3 separate regions of the Homo sapiens genome follow, and all the other regions are linked to region 1. Evidence: promoter capture Hi-C in human tissues and cell types (Jung and others, 2019). All regions are on one chromosome and are shown on one strand. Each heading gives the region's core, a stretch centred on a gene start or on the middle of the fragment in contact. The rest is flanking DNA. Distances are from core to core; before and after follow the strand shown.

Region 1 (5,090 bases), core at 1,723-4,222:
TACCAGAGACTGGGAAAGGAAGGAAGAAAAGGAAGACGGGAAGAGGTTCGTCAATGGGTACAAAGTTACGGTGGGATAGGAGGAATAAGTTGTGGTGTTCTATTGCACGGTAGGGTGGTTATGGTTAACAGTAAGGTATTGTATATATAAAATAGCCGGAAGAGAGGCTTTTGAATGTTCCTGTCACAAACAAATGATAAATGCATGAGGTGATGGATATGCTAACTACCCTGATTTGATCATTATACAACATATACACAGCATATATTGAAATGTCTAATTTACCCCATAAATATGTACAAGTGTCAATTTTAAAAACTTTGTTATTTTTTGGCCAGGGGCGATGGCTCACATCTGTAATCCCAGCACTTTGGGATGCCGAGGCAGGTGGATCACGAGGTCAGGAGATTGAGACCATCCTGGCTAACACGGTAAAACCCTGTCTCTACTTAAAACACAAAAAAATTAGCCGGGCGTGGTGGCAGGCGCCTGTAGTCCCAGCTACTCGGGAGGCTGAGGCAGGAGAATGGTGTGAACCCGGGAGGTGGAGCTTGCAGTGAGCAGAGACTGTGCCACTGCACTCCAACCTGGGCGACAGGGCGAGACTCCGTCTCAAAAAACAAAACAAAACAAAACAAAACAAAATTTTTTTTTAAGAATTAGGAATTCCTAGGACGTAGCAAGCTGCTCTTTCAGCTCTGTCCACTCTGTCATCCCACGTCGCTCCTATTCCCTGTTTCCTCCCTTCTTTATATCTATTCTACTCCTAAATTCCTCCCCCTTATTCTTTATTGCTATGTATGGAAGTCTGGGGAAAAAAAAGTGAAGGGAAAGAATCCGATCTGGAGGGCAATAGTAGGGAAGGGGAAAAGAGTAGGTATTTAGGAGAGGAGATGAAAATCCTCTCGTTTCTGAACCGATCTGATGAGTCAGCAAAGAAGACTTACCACAGCTCCAGGACTTTGGGGGGTAGCTTTTCAGGGACCTGGTAATACTGAAGGACCCAGGAGAGGACTTCTTGCCACCGATCCATTTCTGCCAGGGCCTGGATCCCCACAACACACAGGGAGCACTTCACCTCCAATGAGCTGTCAGCAGAAAAACCAATTTCAGTTAGAAGTGGTTCCCCTCCATTTCCATTCCCACCTCCACCTTGGGACTGTTCCTCTCCAGCTCCCAACTCAGCAGCCATCATCTCTCTCATCCCTGTTAGTATTTAGATGGGCTTCACAATTGGTCTCATGGGCTGCCCTTTCCCCCAGGAACTAAAAGTTCCTGTAACCCTCTTTCAAGAGGCAAGTCAGCTGTTGCTCAACGTTCATCTTTGTATCCAGGTGAAATCAGATTTAAATGAAGAGGAAGGGTAATCCTGAGGGGGAAATAACACACAGCACCGGTGTGTGGCTGAAAAGAGAGCTGGAACTAAGAGTTTGCTCTGTGAACAAATGGGCTTGGAGCAAGGTTTCTGGCTGAGTGGAGGTATAGACTCCATAGCTGGCTAAAAGGCACCACCTAGTAAGGTTCCTCCAGACACCCAGAAGCAAAGCCTTCTGCATTCACTGAAATGAGCTCCCACCCAGTCCCCTAAAACACAGCCAGGGCTCTCCAGATCATCCTTCTTTGTGGTCAACTTTAGCTATTCTACCTACCACCTCCCTAGCGTGGCCTAACCCAAGTTTACAATGCAAAGAAATGACTCCCTCACCTGCCAGACGAGGCTGGTGGCATTAGAAAGAGCAATGCAAGCCCAAGGTTTTTTTCTCCGGATTCTTTTCTTTTTCTTCTTTTTGGTAGAGAAGAGGGCTCATTATGTTACCCAGGCTGGTCTCGAACTCCTGGGCTCAAGCAATCCTCCTGCCTCGGCCTCCCAAAGTGCTGGGATTACAGGCGTAAGCCCCAGCTCCCGGCCCTGAATTAATTCTTTAATCCAGTCCTCTAATTGGACCAGAACGCTGCTCCTGCCATGACCCCCATTCCCCATCATCAGCCAAGGTCAGGAATAAACAACCTTGGGCGGGGCGGGGAGGGCGGAGGTACCTGGGAGAGGACTTTTACCACCTGCTTACTGACAGAACTTAGCACTTAATACACATTCAGCCTTCCCATCATGTCATTGTACCTTGGAACAAGGAGCAAATAATTGGCTGTGGGATCCCCACTAAGTTTTTGTTACACGACTTCCCTTCTCTGTAGAATGGGCACACGATGAGCGACCACCCTCTCGGAGACAAACCACTGATGAAAGCGAGGTGTAAAGCTCCTTGTGGGCAATCTGGGAAGGACAGAACTCCTGAGACCTTGAGCCCCACCACAAGAGCGCCCGGAAATCGGTTCATTTCCGAGCCCAGCACGTACGTGCCCGCGGGTTCCTCTGCCACGGCGTGGTTGGCCAGACTCTGCCAGGCCCGCTCGCAGGTCTCCAGCGCCGCCCGGAAGTCCAGGTGCACCACCAGGAGGTCGGCCGCCTCCTCCAGAAGGTCCACGGCCGGCGCCCGGGCCGGGACCGCGCGCACCGGCTCGCTGCTGCGCAGGGGTCCCCCGAGCCCCCTGAGGGGGGCTGCAGAGGTCGAAGAATCGCTCTTCATAACGAGTCCGGGTCCAAGGCCCAGGTCCTCAGACGTCGGAGTGACCGCCTCCCCAGAGGCTCCGGGATATCCCGAGTTGGCCTGGGCGAAGAGGGAGAGTCCTCATCTCTTTGCCCACACCCCTTCCCGAGGTCGATTCCCCGAGAAGGAAAAGGAAGGGGCCTATCTGAGGCAAAAGCTGGGCTCGCCTGGAGGCTGGGGAAGCAGTTTACACGTCAGATTTGCAGGATTCTTGCATCCCTGGAATACCTGGCCCTAGCTTCTCCGGCCCCGCGACACGTGCAGGAACTGCCTCAGCTCCGGGCTCCTGGTTACGATCAAAGACTCACCTCGCCTCCCGGCAGCGGGCGCGGACATCTTTGCGCTCGCCCAGCCCCGCAGCCGCGCGGCGTCCCGGCGGCGCGGAGTACTCTAGGAGTTGTAGTTCCTCAGCTCTCGGCCCATCGCCTTCTGTAATGGAAGTAGGAGGCAGAGCGCGGACTACAACCCCCAGCACGCCGCGCCCCGGAAGCCGCCCCTGTGCCGTGAGAAAACAAACTGGTGCTACAGCTTCGGGGTGCGGAAGTCAAAACGAAGCAAAACCGAAGCTGTCTTGTGAAATGGAGGGGTCCTCACTAACCAGTTCCAGCGGAGGCTAACGGAAGAAGTGCCAGCAATGGATGTGCAGCTACATGCACGCTTTTAATTCAGAGCTTCTGCGACGGTGGCGATCAGGGGATCTGTAATGTAATGTAATGTCAAGGCTGACGCAGAGCTGATCAAACATTTTGGCAACCTTAGTCTTGAATTGATTCACACTTTCTCCGCGTTGCCTCCGGAGTTTGCTGTAGGGTAATGAATATTGCCTGGTGAGGATGAGGGACTTAGGGTGGAAACCTTCACAAGGACCACTGAGAATATGTTGGTCCCAAGGGCAATGTTCCAAAATGAATAGTGACCCCACCGAGGCGGGGTTGGGGGCGCTGAGCATAAGGGCCTCATTTTTCTCACTGCTCTCTGCCCCATCCTGAATTTGCTGTTAAAAAACAACGTTAAATGCAGATACCAATTCCACTTCCCCACTGTTGTCACTTCCGATCTGTCTTTATATTTCTCCTTATCATTTATCACCATCTACATACCAATGTCTATATTTTACTTATTTTTATTGTCTATTTCCTTCCACTATGATATAAACTCACAAAGGCAGACGTTTTTGTCTCTTTTGTTCACTGTGGGAACCTCAATGCCTTGAACAGTGCCTGTCATCTATAGGTAGTCAAAAAGTATTTGTGGAATAAATGAAGTCCTGGTTTCACTTTTATCTGGTTACAGGGTCCAGACTTCTCTTTCCTCGGAGTCTGGTGGACTTGGTTCTGCCTCAGCTTCCCATGCAGACTTTTCTGCAAGAGAACGGAAATCCCAGAAGATGGATGTGTGCATGTCTGGTGACAAGGGCAGGGGATGTATGATGTGAGCAGGTGCCTGTTTAATCTAATTTCTAGGAGAGCAAAGATTCTAGGGAAGCTTTGGAGTGAATTCAAAGGGTAGAGAACTGGGGAGAAACTAAAGCCAAGAGGATCTAGTACAAATGTGGGAAGCTTGGCAAAGCCCGGGTGAAACAGAATATAATAATAAGTGTGATTTGTGGATCTGTTTAAAATTATTATTATAGTTACAATTTACCAAATACTCTGTTCCCAGTACTTTACTATAAAGTGCATTATGTACGGTATGGTTTTGTTTTTCACAATGTCCTTATTTTACATTGTGTAACTTGCTCATGGAATGACTGTGTATCCCCTGAATAGCAAACATACTTAGTTCTGTCCCTGCAGAGCAGAGTAGAGCTCAATACACATCTTTGAACCAAAAGAGCCTCGGTTTGACTGAGATTTTGTCGCTTACTAGTTGTGTGACCTCGGCAATTTATTTAAATAAGCTCTGATTTCCTCACCTGTAAAATTGGGATAACAGTTTGTCCTTAGCTCCCAATGGCTGAGGGAAGAATTAAGTAATATTGCGCATAAAGCGCCATGCGCATTAAGCACTGAAAATGTGAGCCAGGCCTGGGAAGACGAACATGCTCAGAAGCGGCCAGCTCTAAGCGGCTGCTGCCTGGAAAAGTCCCTTTCCTAACAAATTTCTTGCTATTCCAAATTTGTCCAGGAGATGGAGGCACAGTCTTAACAGAAGCAGCCTTGCTAAAAGTAAATTTGCCTATTTAGTAGTGAGACAGCCAGAATGAGGTCAAGATATTTAAGGCAGGAGAGAGGAGAGCTAGAAACCATATAAAAATATGATTGTATTCCATTTCTGATTCACCCAATTTTCAACTATTCCCGGGCTTCATATCAGTCCGTATGTAACCACTGTTTAGCACTATTATGCCCACAAATGGATTCCTCAACACACATCCAGTGGGACACATCATCTCCTCTATGTCTACAAGTACTTAGACTTTCTCAAGCGAAGACACAGAAATCCTAAACAGAAGCGAATTCATTCCCTCTGGGGGAACATAAA
Region 2 (5,090 bases), core at 937-3,436, 850 kb after region 1:
CTGCACCCCTAAATATACCAGAGCCCAAGTCCAAGGAATGTGACTTAATGGGCCTGGGGCGGGGCCTAGACACCTGTGGCTTGTAAAAGTTTCCCAGGTGATTCTAAGGTGCAGCCCAGGCTGCATCCAGCCTGCATTCAGTTGGGCCTTCTGCAGTCTGTGTAGATGGAGGTGCTGCTCAAGTGATCCTTTGGAAAGTGAGCAGCTGAAACTGGCCCCTGGGCAAAAGTGGGAGAAGGGCAAATAGAAGTGTCTGGTAGGAAGGTGGCAGGTGAGGTGTGGTTGGAGTTCCAGCATGTTCAGTGCAGGGAGCAGAGGCTGAGAAGGGTGTGTGATGCACCTGCAAATACAGCCATCAGGGGCCAGGAAGCCAAGGTCGCCTTGCAGTCCTGCTCCAGAACTTTCTCCCTCTCAATTGGCCTTTTCCCGCTTCTGTTTTCTCTCTCCTCCCCTAGGAGGCTGTAAGCGAAGGACAGGTTTAGTGTCATGGGCCTGGCTCAGCCACTTGCTGGAACCTGGATCCAGGGTATTAGCTTCTCTGAAGTCAGGTTTTTCATCTGTTGAATGGGGGGAAAGTGCTTGCCCACCTCATAAGGCGACTGAGGCTTACACCAGGTCATCTGTGGAGCTCAGCTGTGGCTGTTGTTTTTACCTGGTCTTCCTCTTGATGGCTGCGGAACTGAGTGTCTGTTGGCTATTGAACCCGTGAGGCCCGCGTTTCCACATCTTCTACAATAGGGACAGTAATAGGTGGTGCACAGAGTGGGGAGGGAGTTAGAAGGGAAAGGACAGAGCACAAAAGAGGCAGCTGAGAAGTTGGGTTCCTCTGCCCTTCCTCCCTCTGTCTCAGCGCCATCCCCCCCACTACTCTTTCCCCTCAACAGCGCTCCTCTTGCGGTCCTGCTGAATAGTCATCCATTTGGAGGCTCTGGATGGAGCTTTTGGTTTAAAGAGGAGGCCAGGAGATGTAGAACAGCGATAAGGAAATGCACATTAGAGATAAAGGACCTGCTTAATCAGTCACAAAGACCTGTCAAAGAACAGTTGTGAGTGCTTGTTCCTAATGCTCCCTCCGTGGCAGGACTGGAGCCCCAGGGAGAGAAGGGAACTAAGCAGCTTCTCGCATCCATTCATTCAACCACTGGGCAAACATTGACCGAGCAGTTATATAGAGAGCGGCACCCACAGTATTTGGTGACGAGACTGCCTCTGCCATTGGGAGGTGTATCCCAGTGATAGACGCACTCAAGTCCTGGAGCATTTCAACACAGTGCGCCACATGCTGAGACAGGGGCTCAGCCCAGGGAGGCCACCTGGCCTTCGTGAAGCGGGAAGGGAAAGGTCTTCCAGGCCCAGCGGGTGTGTGCACCTGTGCAAAGGCCTCTGCAAAGCACGAGCCTGGCCGGTTTGGAGAACTGCAAAGAGGTCAGTACGAGGAGCTGGAGGCTGTGCAGGGGGCCAATAAAGAGAGGCCGGTGCGGCGGGGGCGGGGGGAGCTTTTGGAATTTTCAGAAGGGAAGTGATACGATCTGATTTGCTTTCCTAAGGTCTCTCATCCAGAGTGCAGAGAACACTGGCAGGGATTGTGGCTGGAGAAATGAAACGGAATCCTGGGTGATGCAGGTCCTCAGACAGCAGGGCTTTTAAAAGATTCTGAGACAGCCAGTCCTCCCCTCCCTGCTGCTGGAGGAAGGCTCTTGAGAACAACACAGCAACCGTCAGACCAGGAAGGGCAGGCAGTCCTCCTGCTGTCCTGTCAACAGGTGGAAATAAAAGTCCTTCACCCCAACAAGGCCACGGACCCCACGTCTGACGTATAGAAAAGGCTGGCCAAAACATGCACAATCACACGAGAGGCCTTTTTTTTCCTACTTTTTTTTTTTAAGTTTTTATTATTATTATTTTTTAGAGATATGGTCTTGCTCTGTCGCCTGGACTGGAGTGCAGTGGTGTGATTATGGCTCACTGCAGCCTCAAACTTCTGCGCTCAAGCAATTCTTCTGCTTCAGCCTCCCAAAGTGCTGGGATTACAGGTGTGAGCCACCACGTCTGGCCCAGAGGGCCATCTTTTGTCTTTGGATTCAGAGCCCACTTTGAAGGTGGCAAGTCACAGATGTTGGCATAATTGATGATGATTCCTGGGGCAGCCAAAGGAAAGGACCAAAATACAGACAGTCTCACCAGGCATGACAGCAGTGATAAAGAAAAAGCCACTCCCTTTTCCCCGCAGAAAAGAAAATGAAAAATAGGAATGGAAGAAAGAAAACTACGGAGAGTTGTAAAGATAAATGTCGGTGCTTACAAAGTATGGGAGTCTGGGCGTGGTGGCTCACGCCTGTAATCCCAGCACTTTCAGAGGCTGAGGCGGGCGGATCAGTTGAGATCAGACGTTCGAGACCAGCCTGGTCAACATGGTGAAACCTCCTCTCTACTAAAAATACAAAAATTAGCCAGCAGGCTAATTTTTATATTTAATTTTTAAATTAGTGGCGGGTGCCTGTAATCTCAGCTACTCAGGAGGCTGAGGCATGAGAACCACTTGAACCCGGGAGGTGGAGGTTGTGGTGAATGGAGGTGGCACCACTGCACTCCAGCCTGGGTGACAGAGCGAGATTCCCGTCTCAAAAAAAACAAAAAAAGAGTGTGTGGGAGATGAGAAACAGAAAGATGGGAGGCAAGTGGCTTGGGCTTGATCCCTCGGGATGTTTCAGTGTTGCACTGAAAATGAGGAGCTAGGCCGGGCGCGGTGGCTCATGCCTGTAATCCCAGCACTTTGGGAGGCCAAGGTGGGTGGATCACAAGGTCAGGAGTTCAAGACCAGCCTGGCCAAGATGATGAAACCCCATCTCTACTAAAAAATAGAAAAATTAGCCCGGTGTGGTGGTGGGTGCCTATAATCCCAGCTACTTGGGAGGCTGAGTCAGAGAATTGCTTGAACCCGGAAGGCAGAGGTTGCAGTGAGCCGAGATTGCGCCATTGCACTCCAGCCTGGGCGACAGAGTGAGACTCCATCTAAAAAATAAAAGTAAAAAATAAAAAAATTTAAAAAGCCGGGTGCGGTGACTCATGCCTATAATCCCAGCACTTTGGGAGGCCGAGGCGGGCAGATCACCTGAGGTCGGGAGTTCGAGACCAGCCTGACCAACATGGAGAAACCCCATCTCTACTGAAAATGCAAAATTAGCCAGGCGTGGTGGCGCATGGCTATAATACCAGCTACGCGGGAGGCCGAGGCAGGAGAATTGCTTTGAACCCAGGAGACGGAGGTTGCAGTGAGCTGAGATCGTGCCATTACACTCCAGCCTGGGCAACAAGAGTGAAACTTTGTCTCAAAAAAAAAAAAAAGAAAAGAAAAGAAAAAAAAGAAAATGAAGAGCTAAATGCAAACAAACAAGAAGAACTTGCCCAGGCTTATCCATTTGCTGTTGGCATTTATCATGATCTCTAAGATTGTGGTATGATTGCACAAGTAGAGTGCTGCCCGATTCCAGGAGGCACTGTGTACACTGCTGGCATTGTAGGCTCATCTATTTATGACAAGTTTTGGCCAATGGCACACAAGAAGCCACACAGCGAATGGCTGGGCTGATTGGCCACTCCTTGCAAGGCACCCTGGTGTCATTTGCCTCTTCTGTGTTACACCAGGTTGAGGAGACCTAAATGTCTAACAAACACTCATACACCCAAACACCCGCTCTTTTCCTCCATACTTTCAATCATGCGTGCCTTCCCGCAGCAGACGTTTGGGTCCTTCCTCTGAGCCTGGCACTATGAAGACCCCAAGGTAAACAACAGCTTTCCATCTGCTATGCGAATATATATGAAACGAACAGTCATAGAAATCTATGAATACAAAATCACAAGCTGTGATACATGTTGTGGAAGAAGATAAAAGGGTATTGTGAAGAGTGGAACCGGGGCTAACTTCCTATAGGGGTGTTCCCTGAAGCCCTCCCCAGGAAGACACATTTCCATCGGGATCTCAAGGATGGGTGGGAGCTGCACTAGTCAAGGAGGGGAAGGAGCTCCCCCGTAAAGGGGATTGCACAGCAGCGCCTTGGAAGTGAAGGGCCCCCTCACTTGAGAGGCCACAGGAAGGCTGGCCAGCAGGTCGGGAGCTGGGGGAGAGGGTGGAGACATGGTCTCCAGGCCAGATAAGGCTGGCCCAGCAGGCCAAGAAAAAGAGCTTGCATTTTGCTCACTGTGTAGTGGGTAGACTTTGAAAGGTTTTCAGCAGGAAGGAACATGAGGGGCATGCTGAAATTTGTGTTTTTAGATCTGCAGAGTGGAAAATTAATGGAAAGGGGACAAAAGTAGAAGCTGCTGAAGTGAGCAGCTGAGGGATGATGGGGCCTTGCATTGGGTTGCAACTGTGGAGATGGAAGGAGTGGGCAGGTTGAAGGGTAAACATGGGGGCCTGGTGGAGATTTGGGGTGGGAGATGTGGAAGATATCCGCTAACTCCTCCTCATTTTCTAGAGTGGAAATCAGGTTTCTGGCAGAAACAACTGGGTGGATGGAGGTGCCACTCACTGGGAAGGGGAAAGTTGGAAGAAGAACAGCTTTTGTGGGGAGGGAAAATGGAAAAGTCAATATGGGCCAAGTTGAGTTTGAGATCTCAGTGTTGGCCTATTCACTGTCACAATATGAGGACAGAGACAAACTCACCAGCTCCTCTCTCACTGAGTATATGTTTGAGCATTTGCATTCCCAAAAAAAGGACAATCAAAACAAATATTTATTGGGCAGTTTCTGGGAATTCAGCAGGGAGAAGCAACAAGGAAGACTGGAACAGAGCCATGGGCAGCATGGCCCCAAGACTGCCTCCCCAGTTCCAATATTTTACTTAGTGGGTCCTGGACTTCTGCATCTGTAAAATGGGCAGATCACCTACCTCACAGAATTGTCCTGAGGACCGCATGAGATGGCGTAGACCACGACCTTTAGTCCAGTGCCCAGCACATAGTAAGTGCCCACTAACTGTGAGCAACTTTTGAGCAAATATTTAACGAGTGTTGCAATCGAATGGGGAAGCTGGACAGGGAGCAAATAGCTTCAAGAGTCACAAGTTGCTGCAGGCCTCAGTCTTAC
Region 3 (5,090 bases), core at 1,051-3,550, 560 kb after region 1:
CGATCTTGCCTAGATAGCAGGCTTTTTTTTTTCCCCCCGAGATGGAGTCTTGCTTTGTCACCAAGGCTGGAGTGCAGTGGCACGATTTTGGCTTACTGCAGACACTGCCTCCTGGGTTCAAGTGATTCTCCTGCCTTAGCCTCTCGAGTAGCTGAGATTACAGGTGTGTACCACCACGCCTAGCTAATTTTTGTATTTTTAGTAGAGATGGGATTTCACCATGTTGACCAGGCTGGACTAGAACTCCTGACCTCAGGTGATCCGCCCACCTCAGCCTCCCAAAGTGCTGGGATTACAGGCGTGAGCCATGGCGCGTGGCCCAGTTAGTTGACTTCTCAATGTCATTTTCACCATTCAAAAATCTATGAGCCTGACTTTAGAAGAGTTTACAGGTAAAAATCTGGAATGAACAGGAGGGACAAAAATAAAAACTGCATACGTTAACACTGTACCCATAAGGTGTCTCAGTGTAACAAACAGAATTAAATAACAACCATAAAATCTTTATCCTATAGCCAGAGCAGGCCAGTTTCAATATGGTGGATGTTGATTCTGAAAAGGGGATGCTATGGACACTTGGCAAGGACGACTGTCCCGAAGACTGCAACTCTGGCCACTGCTTCCCGAATAAATGTCTGTCAAGCACCTTCCCTAAATTTTGCCATAATCCCTGCTCTCACTTCCACCCCACTTCCAAGGTTCTTAATTGTTCCAGCAACATCTTTACCCAGCTGAGATATGATGAAACTGCAGTTAACAAAGCAAAGTAAAACAAAACTATTTGCCTTTGCTCTTTTCAGATGTATACTGATGCCAAAAAAACACCATAAGGTATCAGTTGACTCACATGGGCAGGGGAAAGAGAGGAGATAATACTGAGCCTTGTCACTACAGTAACCAAAACAGCATGGTACTGGTACCAAAACAGAGATATAGACCAATGGAACAGAACAGAGGCCTCAGAAATAACACCACACATCTACAACCATATGATCTTTGACAAACCTGACAAAAACCAGTAACAGGGAAAGGATTCCGTATTTAATAAATGGTGCTGGGAAAACTGGCTAGCCATATGTAGAAAGCTGAAACTGGATCCCTTCCTTATACCTTATACAAAAATTAATTCAAGATGCATTAAAGACTTAAATGTAAAACCTAAAACCATAAAAACCCTAGAAGAAAACCTAGGCATTACCATTCAGGACATAGGCATGGGCAAGGACTTCATGACTAAAACACCAAAAGCAATGGCAACAAAAGCCAAAACAGACAAATGGGATCTAATTAAACTAAAGAGCTTCTGCACAGCAAAAGAAACTACCATCAGAGTGAACAGGCAACCTACAGAATGGGAGAAAATTTTTACAATCTACTCATCTGACAAAGGGCTGATATCCAGAATGTACAAAGAACTTAAAGAAATTAACAACAACAAAAAAAATCAAACAACCCCATGAAAAAGTGGGCAAAGGATATGAACAGACACTTCTCTCTCTCTCTCTTTTTTTTTTTTTTGAGATGGAGTCTCGCTCTGTCACCCAGGCTGGAGTGCAGTGGCGCCATCTCGGCTCACTGCAAGCTCCACCATTCTCCTGCGTCAGCCTCCTGAGTAGCTGGGACTACAGGCGCCCGCCACCACGCCTGGCTAATTTTTTGTATTTTTAGTAGAGACGGGGTATCACTGTGTTAGCCAGGATGGTCTCGATCTCCTGACCTCGTGATCCTCCTGCCTTGGCCTCCCAAAGTGCTGGGATTACAGGCGTGAGCCACTGCGCCCGGCCGAACAGATGCTTCTCAAAAGAAGACATTTATGCAGCCAAAAGACACATGAAAAAATGCTCATCATCACTGGTCATCAGAGAAATGCAAATCAAAACCACAATGAGATACCATCTCACGCCAGTTAGAATGGCGATCATTAAAAAGTCAGGAAACAACAGATGCTGGAGAGGATGTGGAGAAATAGGAACGCTTTTACGCTGTTGGTGGGAGTGTAAACTGGTTCAACCATTGGGGAAGACAGTGTGACAATTCCTCAAGGATCTAGAACTAGAAATACCATTTGACCCAGTGATCCCATTACTGGGTATATACCCAAAGGATTGTAAATCATGCTACTATAAAGACACATGCACACGTATGTTTATTGCGGCGCTATTCACAATAGCAAAGACTTGGAACCAACCCAAATTGTCCATCAATGGACATCAATGATAGACTGGAATAAGAAAATGAGGCACATATACACCATGGAATACTATGCAGCCCAAAAAACCCAAAAAGACGAGTTCATGTCCTTTGCAGGGACATGAATGAAGCTGGAAACCATCATTCTCAGCAAACTATCACAAGACAGAAAACCAAACACCGCATGTTCTCACTCATAGGTGGGAACTGAACAATGAGAACACTTGGGCACAGGGCGGGGAACATCACACACCGGGGTCTGTCAGAGGGTGGGGGACTGGGGGAGGGATAGCATTAGGAGAAATACCTAATGTAAATGATGAGTTGATGGGTGCAGCAAACCAACATGGCACATGTATGTATACCTATGTAACAAACCTGCACATTCTGCACATGTACTCTAGAACTTAAAGTATAATAATAATTTAAAAATCCTACTTACAATAAAAAAAAAACCTGAGCCTTGTCAAAGGGAAGATTTCATTGAAAGAGAATTGTGATGCTTTATGTATGTCAGACCCCAAAATGAGAGGAAAACAGGTATATCTATATATCAAACATGAAAGTTATTTACAGAATTACCTATGTGTATTCTGGCCACTCTCCCCCACAACAAAAGACAATAGGTGTAAACCTGTGAAATATTCTTCTTTCATCAGTACAGGGTACATTAAATAGAATCTAACATTTTAATAAGGACTGAGCAAATGCAAGCCAATTACTCATGAAATTGTAATGTTAAGTCACTCAAGACTTGATAATCTGGCCAGGCACGGTGGCTCACGCCTGTAATCTCAGCACCTTGGGAGGCCAAGGTGGGTGGATCATGAGGTTAAGAGATTGAGACCATCCTGGTAAACATGGTGAAACTCTGTCTTTACTAAAAATACAAAAATTAGCTGGGCACGGTGGTGTGTGCCTGTAGTCCCAGCTACTTGGGGGGCTGAGGCAGGAAAATCGCTTGAACCTGGGAGGCGGAGGTTGCAGTGAACCAAGATTGTGCCACTGCACTCCAGCCTGGCAACAGAGTGAGATTATGTCTCAAAAAAAAAAAAAAAGACTTGATAATCTAAACCAACATAGGAAGTGTTCATGTGTTAAGTCAGTGGAGAGGGAGAAAGAGAAAAAACCCAAAAGCCAATAACCTAAATCTTACTAATATATAATTCTTTTTCTGTAATGAGTATGACTTATTATTCTTAATATGTAATATCTCACAATCAGTTAACAGTGCTCCCCTCAAACAAATGGAACACGAACACAAAACTCACAAACAATATATAAAGCACACGAGGGGCCGGGCATGGTGGCCCATGCCTGTAATCCCAGCACTGTGGGAGGCCGAGGTGGGTGGTTCACGAGGTCAGGAGATCAAGACCTTCCTGGCTAATGTGGTGAACCCTGTCTCTACTAACAATACAAAAAATTAGCTGGGCATGGTGGCGGGCGCCTGTAGTCCCAGCTACTCGGGAGGCAGAGGTTGCAGTAAGCTGAGATTGTGCCACTGCACTCCAGCCTGGGTGACAGAATGAGACTCCGTCTCAAAAAAAAAAAAAAAAACACAAAACACCTGAGGGAACTTTCCAGATGCTTGGTGTGAGGTGGAGGAGCAGTGGCTGCACGGACTGCACAGAGCTACAGGCCCCTCCCCACTCCCCACCACCAGCCTCAGCCCACTCACTGGCTACAGAAAATTGTGAAAGAAACCACTTACTATGACATCTTGGGGGTCAAACCTAATGCTACCCACGAAGAACTGACAAAGGCTTAAAAATGGCTTTGAAGTAATACCCTGGTAAGAATCTAAATGAAGGAGAGAAGTTAAATGGATTTCTCAATCTTGAGAAGTTCTCTCTGATGCAGAGAATAGGGAATTCTATGACAAAGGAGGACAGGCAATTAAAGAGGGTGGGGCTGGTGGCAGTTCTCATTCCCCCATGGACATCTCTGCTAAGTTTTTTTGGGGGAGAAGGAAGGATACTAAGAGAAAGGAGAGGTAAAAACTCCTACATCAGCTCTCAGTAGCCTTAGGAGATCTATCCAATGGTGAAAAAAGAAAACTGGCTCTGCAAAAGAATATGATTTGTGACAAATGTGAAGGCAGAGGTGTTAAGAAGGGAGCAGGATCCTGCTGTGCCAACTGCTGAGGTGCTTGAATGCAAACAGTAATTCATCAATAAGACCTGGAATGGTTCAGCAAATTCAATCTGTGTGCATGGAGTGCCAAGCCCATGGGGAAACCATCCGTCCTAAAGATAGACGTGACAGCTGCAATGGAAGGAAGACAGTTGCAGAGAAGGAGATTCTAGAAGTCCATATTGACAAAGGCATGAAAGATGGCCAGAAGATAACATTCCGTGGTGAAGGATACCAAGACCAGAACTGGAGCCAGGAAACATTACCACTGGGGTAGAACAGAAAGACCATGCTGTTTTTACTTGACAGGGAGAAGACCTTTTCCTGTGTACAGACACACAGCTGGCTGAAACACTGTGTGACTCCCAAACGCTAACATCTGCTTTCAAGACTGAACCATGGTCCAGGTCAGAATGTCAAGCACGGGGACATCAAGTGTGTGCTAAATGAAGGAATGCCAATTTACTGCACACCGTATGCAAAGCGTCGCCTAATCACTTAATTTATGTAAACGCTCCTCAGAATGGCTCTCTCTCCTAATAAACTCTCTTTGCTGGAAAAACTTCTACCTGGTAGAAAGGAAGTAGAAGAGACTGATGGGATGATCAAAAAGAACTGGTGGGCTCTGAGGCAAATCAGCAAAGATGGCAGCATTACAATGGAGAAGCATATGAGGGCAAGGAACACCATCTCCCCAGAAGAGGTGGTCAGTGTCAAAGCCCTTAACTGGGCCAGTGAGTAACACTCACTGCTGGCATTTTATC

What was found. Contacts are between HindIII fragments. The study calls those that stand out against the background at their distance.
Region 2: a fragment that was not itself captured here is called in contact with the fragment with the promoter of PEX26 in region 1 in 1 of the 25 tissues and cell types used here (lymphoblastoid cells).
Region 3: a fragment that was not itself captured here is called in contact with the fragment with the promoter of PEX26 in region 1 in 1 of the 25 tissues and cell types used here (lymphoblastoid cells).

Annotation. Positions count from the first base shown.
Region 1 is chr22:18,075,872-18,080,961 of GRCh38, reverse strand. PEX26 (peroxisomal biogenesis factor 26) reads right to left here and starts at 2,972. Exons shown (of 5, transcript NM_001127649.3): 1 at 2,356-2,972; 2 at 948-1,088. The coding sequence starts at 2,585. It overlaps LOC105372853 (a long non-coding RNA gene), which reads right to left. Exons shown (of 6, transcript XR_001755424.2): 6 at 3,066-3,304. RefSeq lists enhancers at 2,149-2,198, 2,679-2,908, 3,239-3,298 and a silencer at 2,559-2,608. The HindIII fragment of the contact is 17,547 bases long and covers 1-5,090 here.
Region 2 is chr22:17,228,857-17,233,946 of GRCh38, reverse strand. No RefSeq gene overlaps it. Among named protein-coding and RNA genes, the nearest start is that of ADA2, 12 kb to the right of the region's middle. The HindIII fragment of the contact is 6,517 bases long and covers 1-5,090 here.
Region 3 is chr22:17,517,953-17,523,042 of GRCh38, reverse strand. All of the region lies in intron 8 of CECR2 (CECR2 histone acetyl-lysine reader), which reads right to left. It also overlaps the pseudogene DNAJA1P6. Among named protein-coding and RNA genes, the nearest start is that of SLC25A18, 43 kb to the left of the region's middle. The HindIII fragment of the contact is 6,795 bases long and covers 1-5,090 here.